2 separate regions of the Homo sapiens genome follow, and region 2 is linked to region 1. The links are contacts of gene promoters, found by promoter capture Hi-C in human tissues and cell types (Jung and others, 2019). All regions are on one chromosome and are shown on one strand. Each heading gives the region's core, a stretch centred on a gene start or on the middle of the fragment in contact. The rest is flanking DNA. Distances are from core to core; before and after follow the strand shown.

The links. The method cuts DNA at HindIII sites, captures the fragments that hold promoters and counts their contacts. A contact is called where the count stands out against the background at its distance.
Region 2: a fragment that was not itself captured here is called in contact with the fragment with the promoter of FBXO2 in region 1 in 1 of the 25 tissues and cell types used here (H1 embryonic stem cells).

The regions. Positions count from the first base shown.
Region 1 is chr1:11,653,179-11,656,650 of GRCh38, forward strand. It overlaps FBXO2 (F-box protein 2), which reads right to left and starts at 1,251. Exons shown (of 6, transcript NM_012168.6): 1 at 1,141-1,251. The coding sequence starts at 1,162. FBXO44 (F-box protein 44) reads left to right here and starts at 1,699. Exons shown (of 6, transcript NM_033182.7): 1 at 1,699-1,774; 2 at 2,628-2,922. The coding sequence starts at 2,658. RefSeq lists silencers at 1,201-1,340, 1,581-1,810, 1,861-1,930. The HindIII fragment of the contact is 14,481 bases long and covers 1-3,472 here.
Region 2 is chr1:11,491,696-11,495,167 of GRCh38, forward strand. The region is part of intron 1 of DISP3 (dispatched RND transporter family member 3); the gene reads left to right. Among named protein-coding and RNA genes, the nearest start is that of DISP3, 14 kb to the left of the region's middle. The HindIII fragment of the contact is 6,238 bases long and covers 1-3,472 here.

The sequences.
Region 1 (3,472 bases), core at 1-2,500:
TCCGGCCCTGGCCCCATCGGACACCTGATGCTCCCCGAAAGGTGCACCTCACCCAGTCCCCTCTTCTGGCCCCGGGGCCTGGCACTCGAGGCCCCAGATCCAATTACAGCTCCCCCCACCCTCTCTCTTACACACACAACTCCCCACATTGTTGCCGGCGGAAAGTTATCTGGCCCCTGGAAGCTGCCTGCCTGCGAGGCTGACTCACTCACCTGGAGTGGGCCCCAGAGTCCAGGGTATAGCTGATCCCTGGGAAAAAGCAGGAGCCAGTTCTGGAGCCCTACAGAGGGTGTGGCCAGAAGGCCGTGGATTGGGAGCAAGGGCTGCGAGAGCTGGAATTTTCAGGGCTGGAGGCGGGGGAATGGGGGGTGAGGGGGGGCCTGAGCTTTCATCAGTCTGTTTGCCACCGCCTAACCCAAGCAATGCCCATCCCCAGCTGGACCTGATGAGGAAAGAGTGAGGGCTGTCTGCAGGCAGGTCTTGTTTCCATCCTGACTCAGCAGGCAACCCCTGCAGGCCCCGCAGGGAGTTGGAGGGATGGGGGTGAGGGGTCTTGGGTGCCAGAGAGGATGACTGGGCAGCCTGGGAAGGCCCTGAGCACCAGCCAAAGCTGCCCCCAACGCTCCCTCACCGCTAGTCGGGTCCCCACTGGGCATCTCACCACCCCGGGGAGGGGCAGCCCCTCCAGACAAGGGAGCTCAGGAGGAAGGCAGGAATAGGTGAGGCCAGGCCTGGGACCCCAAGGAACCCACGGGGATTCAGACGGCCCAAGGCCCAGAGCTGGAAGAGCTGATGAAAGAAAAGGCTCGCAGCCTCCCTCCCAGACGCATCCCAGGCCCCCGCCAGACAGACCCTCAGGAAGCTGGGAGGCGGGAATGTGGGGGTCCTCTGGTGCTACTTCCTGGCTAAATGGGACCCAGGAGTTCTCTCTCCTTGCCAGTCGCCTCTCAAGGCCTCCCGCCAGACCAAGATAGCAGAGAGACGTGCTCTTTGGAGACCGCCTCTAGGGCTTCGCTGGCGTGAAAGTTTGCCGCGCCAGGTCTCCGGGTCCCCTCGCTCTCTGACGCCCCTCTGTGCAGCGCTCGCCCGCCGACCCCATCTCCCCTCCCCGCCGCAGCGAGCGGTCCAGGCGTCGGCTACCTGGGTCACCGTCTCCGTCCATCGCTGCGGAGGGCGGTCGCGAGAGGAGGAGCCGGAGCGCTGCGGGCTGCGCGAGTCCCGGGGCGGCGAGTCCCGGCGCTGTCCGCGTCTGTGTCGGTCCCGGCGACCGCGCCTCTTAAAGGCCCCCGACCCGACCCGCCCCGCCCCGCCTCTGGCCCCGCGCCCGGCCGCCCCGCAGTCCCAGCAGTCTGCTCGAGGCCCGGGGCTGCGGGTTCCTCAGCGGACCGAGGAGGCTGGGAAAGGTCAGGAGTCGTTTTTTTTCCAACTGGGGAGGGGTCCGATTTGGGGCATCTCGCAGCTCGCTCCTGGGGGACTGCTGGGAGGAGGCGGCTAGGGGAGGCACGGAGAGGCTGGGTCAGGCCGAGGGTGAGGGGCGGGTGGCCCAGGCGGAGTCGGAGTATAGGAGGTGCCTTCCGCCCCACCCCCCACACCAGGTAATTTTCCTACGACGCGGTGGGGGTGCGTCCCTGGCCCAGCGCTGCGCGGGGCGGGGCGCGGGGCGCGGGGGCGGGGCCTGGCGGGCCGGGGCGGGGCCTCGCTTTCCAGGCAAGCGCAGGTCCAGGCGGTGCAGCTTGGGCGGCCCAACGGATCGTGCCGCGGCGGCCGAGCGCAGGTGACCGGCAGGAGGGGGCGCGGGGGGCGCTGGGGAGGGGGCGCGGCTGGGCGGGGGCTGCCGGGAAGGCTCCTGGGTTCCGGGTCGCGCCGCAGTTGCCGAGGGAGGCCTGGCACCGACCAGGCCCAGGCCGCCGAGCTTGCCCGGGCTGCGCTGCGCGGCTGCGAACGGGGGCTGGGGTCGCCATCGATGTACAGGGGTCCGAGCCCAGACTTTGGGGGGCATTTTAAGGCACAGCGTGGGAAGGGGAGGCTGCAGGCGCGCTGGCGGACTTGGGGCTGGCGGAGCCCAGCCGCGGGGCTGGGGGTGGGAGTGGGGGTGGGGAGATAGGAAGGGCCCTTCCCTGTCGCCCACCCTCTTGCCACTCCCACCTAGGCAGGAGATCATGTCCTCTGAGATCTTGAGAAGGTGGCTGGAGCCCTTTGGACCTCCGCGGGAGGCAGTGATAATTAGCCTCCTCCTCCCATCATGTTCTGAGGATGGGAGAGAGGATGGTGACGGCACCGGAGGCCTGGGGTGCTCTGCCCGGCTGCGCATTATATCCCCATTAAAGACTGGCCTACTGAAAAAGGCTGGCCCTGGAATCAAAGAAGATCCGGGCTTCTTCCCCCTCTGCCCTTATTTTTGACCTTGGGCAGTGCCTTCCACCTCTATTGTGAGAGGCCAGAGAAAAAAATCAGAGCTCACCTTTTATTAAAGTACCTGATGTGTCCCAAGCTCCTTGGACCGCCCCAGTGACCCCTGGAGGTAAGGCATCCATTTACAGAGAAGGAAACAGGCTGGGAGAGGCACCATGCTCTCCCGAGATAAATGGCAGAGCAGGGATGAGGCCTGCAGCATAGCTTTTCAACAGCTACAGGAGGGTGTCCAGAAGCCACAAGCCATGGCTGTGGGGAACATCAACGAGCTGCCCGAGAACATCCTGCTGGAGCTGTTCACGCACGTGCCCGCCCGCCAGCTGCTGCTGAACTGCCGCCTGGTCTGCAGCCTCTGGCGGGACCTCATCGACCTCGTGACCCTCTGGAAACGCAAGTGCCTGCGAGAGGGCTTCATCACTGAGGACTGGGACCAGCCCGTGGCCGACTGGAAGATCTTCTACTTCTTACGGAGCCTGCACAGGAACCTCCTGCACAACCCGTGCGCTGAAGGTGGGGTACAGGCCGGGTCTGGCATGCCTCCAGTACACAGTCATGACACCAGGAACATGTATTGAGCACTTAGTATGAGCCGGGTACTTTGGATGGTTTAACACCTTTACTTCTCTCACAGTAACCCAAAGAGGTAGCTACTGTTAGTGCACACATTTTTCAGATGGGCAAACTGAGGCCAAGAGTGGTGTTTCTTATTCTTACTATACTCTTTTTTTTTTTTTTTTTTTTTTGAGACGGAGTTTCACTCTGTCACCCAGGCTGGAGTACAGTGACACAATCTTGGCTCACTGTAACCTCCACCTCCCAAGTTCAGCCTCCCAAGTAGCTGGGATTACAGGCATGTGCCACCACACCTGGCTAATTTTTTTTTTTTTTTTAGATGGAGTCTCGCTCTGTTGCCCAAGCTGGAGTGCAATGGTGCGATCTCGGCTCACTGCAACCTCCACCTCCTGGGTTCAAGCGATTCTCCTGCCTCAGCCTCCCGAGTAGCTGGGATTACCGGTGCCCGCCACCACGCCCAGCTAATTTTTTGTATTTTTAATAGAGA
Region 2 (3,472 bases), core at 381-2,880, 160 kb before region 1:
AACGAGTATGCCTAGTGACTCCGATTCACGTAAAAGTCCAAGGATCTTTGGGGCAGAGAATAAGGGAGTCCGCTCCAGTTGACTTGGGGACCTGCCTACAGCAGGGGCCAGTCCTGGGCTCTGGCTGGCTAAGAAGTTAATAATTGGCCGGGCGCGGTGGCTCACGCCTGTAATCCCAGCACTTTGGGAGGCCGAGGCGGGCGGATCACGAGGTCAGGAGATCGAGACCATCCCGGCTAAAACGGTGAAACCCCGTCTCTACTAAAAATACAAAAAATTAGCCGGGCGTAGTGGCGGGCGCCTGTAGTCCCAGCTACTTGGGAGGCTGAGGCAGGAGAATGGCGTGAACCCGGGAGGCGGAGCTTGCAGTGAGCCGAGATCCCGCCACTGCACTCCAGCCTGGGCGACAGAGCGAGACTCCGTCTCAAAAAAAAAAAAAAAAAAAAAAAGAAGTTAATAATCGTACTAGCTGCTCTGGTTCAGCAGGGGAGCAGTATCACCATCCCCATTTTACAGATTTCCCTCTTGGTGTTAGGGGGTCGGGTTCTGTCCCACTGAGCCCACTAGAGAGGGGACACCAGAACAGGAAAAGTGATAGTGGCTGTTGTGCCCATGAACGTTGGATCCCTCTGGTGTTGGCTGGGACGTTTCCTCAGGTGATATATTGACCCAGGCAAAGCTTGTTTGCCTGATAAATATTGAGCCATTGGGTTTTTCGAGTCAGCGCCCATAGTTTCCTCACCAGCTGTCAGCCCCAGGAGGCCAGTCATCCTTCATCCACTCCATCTGTGCAGCCTGACCTTCTCTGAGAAATGGGGGGCTTGGACAGGCTCGCCACAGAGCCCCCACCCGATTCCTCTCCCCACCCCCACCTGGGCTTCTAATAATAAGCCCAGATTTTCTTTGCAGAGAGGAATGGTCATTTGTACCCCCTCTGAATTTCCGGCTGGCAAATTGAGCCAACAAAGATCGTGTTTCTTAGGGGGCAGCAGGGGTGATGGGGAGTAGAGGTAGGTGCTTGCTTCAGCTGCAGCCACAAAGCCAGGTTTCCCTGGGGCTGGGGCAGGAGATATGGGGTGATAGATTCAGGATCTTCTTGCTGGGGAAAGAGCTCAGACAAGTGTGGAAAGTCACTCAGCCATACCCCTTCCTCTATGGATCTGGAAGGCATTCCCTGGCTCTGTTGCCGTGTTCATTTGAGATTCTAGGTAGGACTTGGAACATCTTCAGAGAAGACTCTGGGAGGGCCCTAGGATCCAGCTGCTAGGATGGGGCTCCCTGCTTCACTCCTACTTTCTCTCTGGGATGCTTCACGGCCCCATTGTATTAGGGTTCTCCAGAAGAAAATAACCAATAGCATATATATATCAGAGAGAGATTTATTAGAAGGAATTGGCTTATGTGATTATGGAGGCTGAGAAGCCCCAAGATCTGCAGGCAGCAAGCTGGAGACCCAGGAGAGCTGATGGTATAGTTGCAGTTTGAGACTGAAGGCCTGAGAACCAGGAGGGCCAATGGTGTAAGTTCTAGTCTGATAGCTGGCAGGCTGAAGACCCAAGAAGAGCTGATATTTCAGCTTGAGTCCAAAGGCCAGAAAAGACCAATGTCCAAGCTCTAGCAGTCAACAAAAACAATTTCCTCTTAGCCTTTTCATTCTATTCAGATCTTCAACTGATTCGTTGAGGCCCACCCTCATTAGTGAGAACCATCTGCTTTACTCTGTGTACTGATGCTGATCTTATCTGGAGGCTGGGCTTGGTGGCTCACTCCTGTAATCCTAGCACTTTGGGAGGCGGAGGTGGGCGGATCACTTGAGGTAGGAGTTCAAGACCAGCCTGGCCAACATGGCGAAACCCCGTCTCTACTAAAAATACAAAAATTAGCCAGGCATGGTGGCATGCACCTGTAATCCCAGCTACTTGGGAGGCTGAGACAGGAGAATCATTTGAACCTCAGAGGTGGAGGTTGCAGTGAGCTGAGATCATGCCACCACACTCAAGCCTGGGCAACAGAGCAAGACTCCATCTCAAAAAAAAAAAAATCTTATCTGGAAACACACTCTCTCTCTCACACACACACCCAGAATCATGTTTGGCCAAATATCTGGGCACCCCATAGTCCAGTCAAGTTGACACATAGAATTAACCATCACACCCATGACCCATTGAAGGGAAAGCCAAGCTTCTGAGGTTGGTGGGAGACTTCCTTTACATCATGCCCTGAGTTGCCACCTGCTGAAAGCAGAATTGCCAGGCCCCGAGTGATCTGTGGTCTTATGGGGATGGGGCAAACTTGCTAAAAGGCAATGGGTTTCTTCAACAAGTACTGACATATCAGCTCTCAAAGAGCTCATAGGCTACCTGGTATGGCCAAAAGAGCCTGGGCTTTAGGATCAATAGACCTGGGGTTCAAACTCCAGTTCTGCCCCTTAGTAGCTGTGTGACCACCAGGGAGTCACTTAACCTCTCTGATTCTGATTTTGCTTCTGTAAAAAGTGAATGCTCATAATGCCTTCCCTAGCGTCCTTGCAGGGCTGATGTGAGGATGACAGAGGATGGATAAGGAGTACTGGCACGTGGTAGATGCAGAGTTAATTATTATGATGGTCTTAATGGGTGTCAGAGTTTCTGCATTGAACTAGCTGGGCTGAACTAGCTGGGCTTTTGACTGCACTCCATGTGTGTGATTTTGCCCGTTTCACCACCACATCTCCAGTGCCTCTCCAGCCTCCTGGCCTAGGTGGAGTGTCCAGGTCTCGGGGAAAGGTTTGGGATTCTGATGACTGGCACATAGCCAGGACATCCGGAGAGCGGTGGATTCTCAGAAGACGGAGTATCAGGACGTAGGACAGTGATGCCTGGGAGGCACCAAGGCCTCCTCTTTTCTTTCCTCCCTTCTCTGGAGCTGTTCAACTCAAAATAACTCATTTTGAGCTTCTGCCCAAAACTCTCGACCCAAGGGTAAGAGAATCAAAGACCTCAAGATGTTCAAGGACCAGAGCTGAACCAGGGAAGGCAAAACATCCTGAGCCAGGAAGAAAAAGCTGATTAGCTCCTAATTGCCGTTAAATTGTATATACATATACGTAGTTTAAGTCAAATCTCCATGTCTAATGTGATTTTTTTATTACATTTTAATAGTCTGGCTGGTATGGGGGAGTGGAGAAGGAAGGGTTCTGTCATCCTTTGCCAGAGGAGGGAAGTTATAAACAGGACCACAGGGAGGCTCTGGCATGGGTTCACATCCCTGGGAGCCCCATCTGCTCTGGAGAGGAGTGAGGCCTGGCAGGGGCCTGGGGGTGTTTTTGAGGCAACACCACCTCCCACCAAAGCCCCATTCTGTCCAAATGGGGAAGTCCATCTGGCCTGTGACTTGAAGATTGGCTTTTCTCTTCAACTTCAAAAATGGCTCTCCCAACTGGGTGTGGCGGCTCACACCTGTAATCTCAACACTTTGGGAGGCCAAGGCGGGC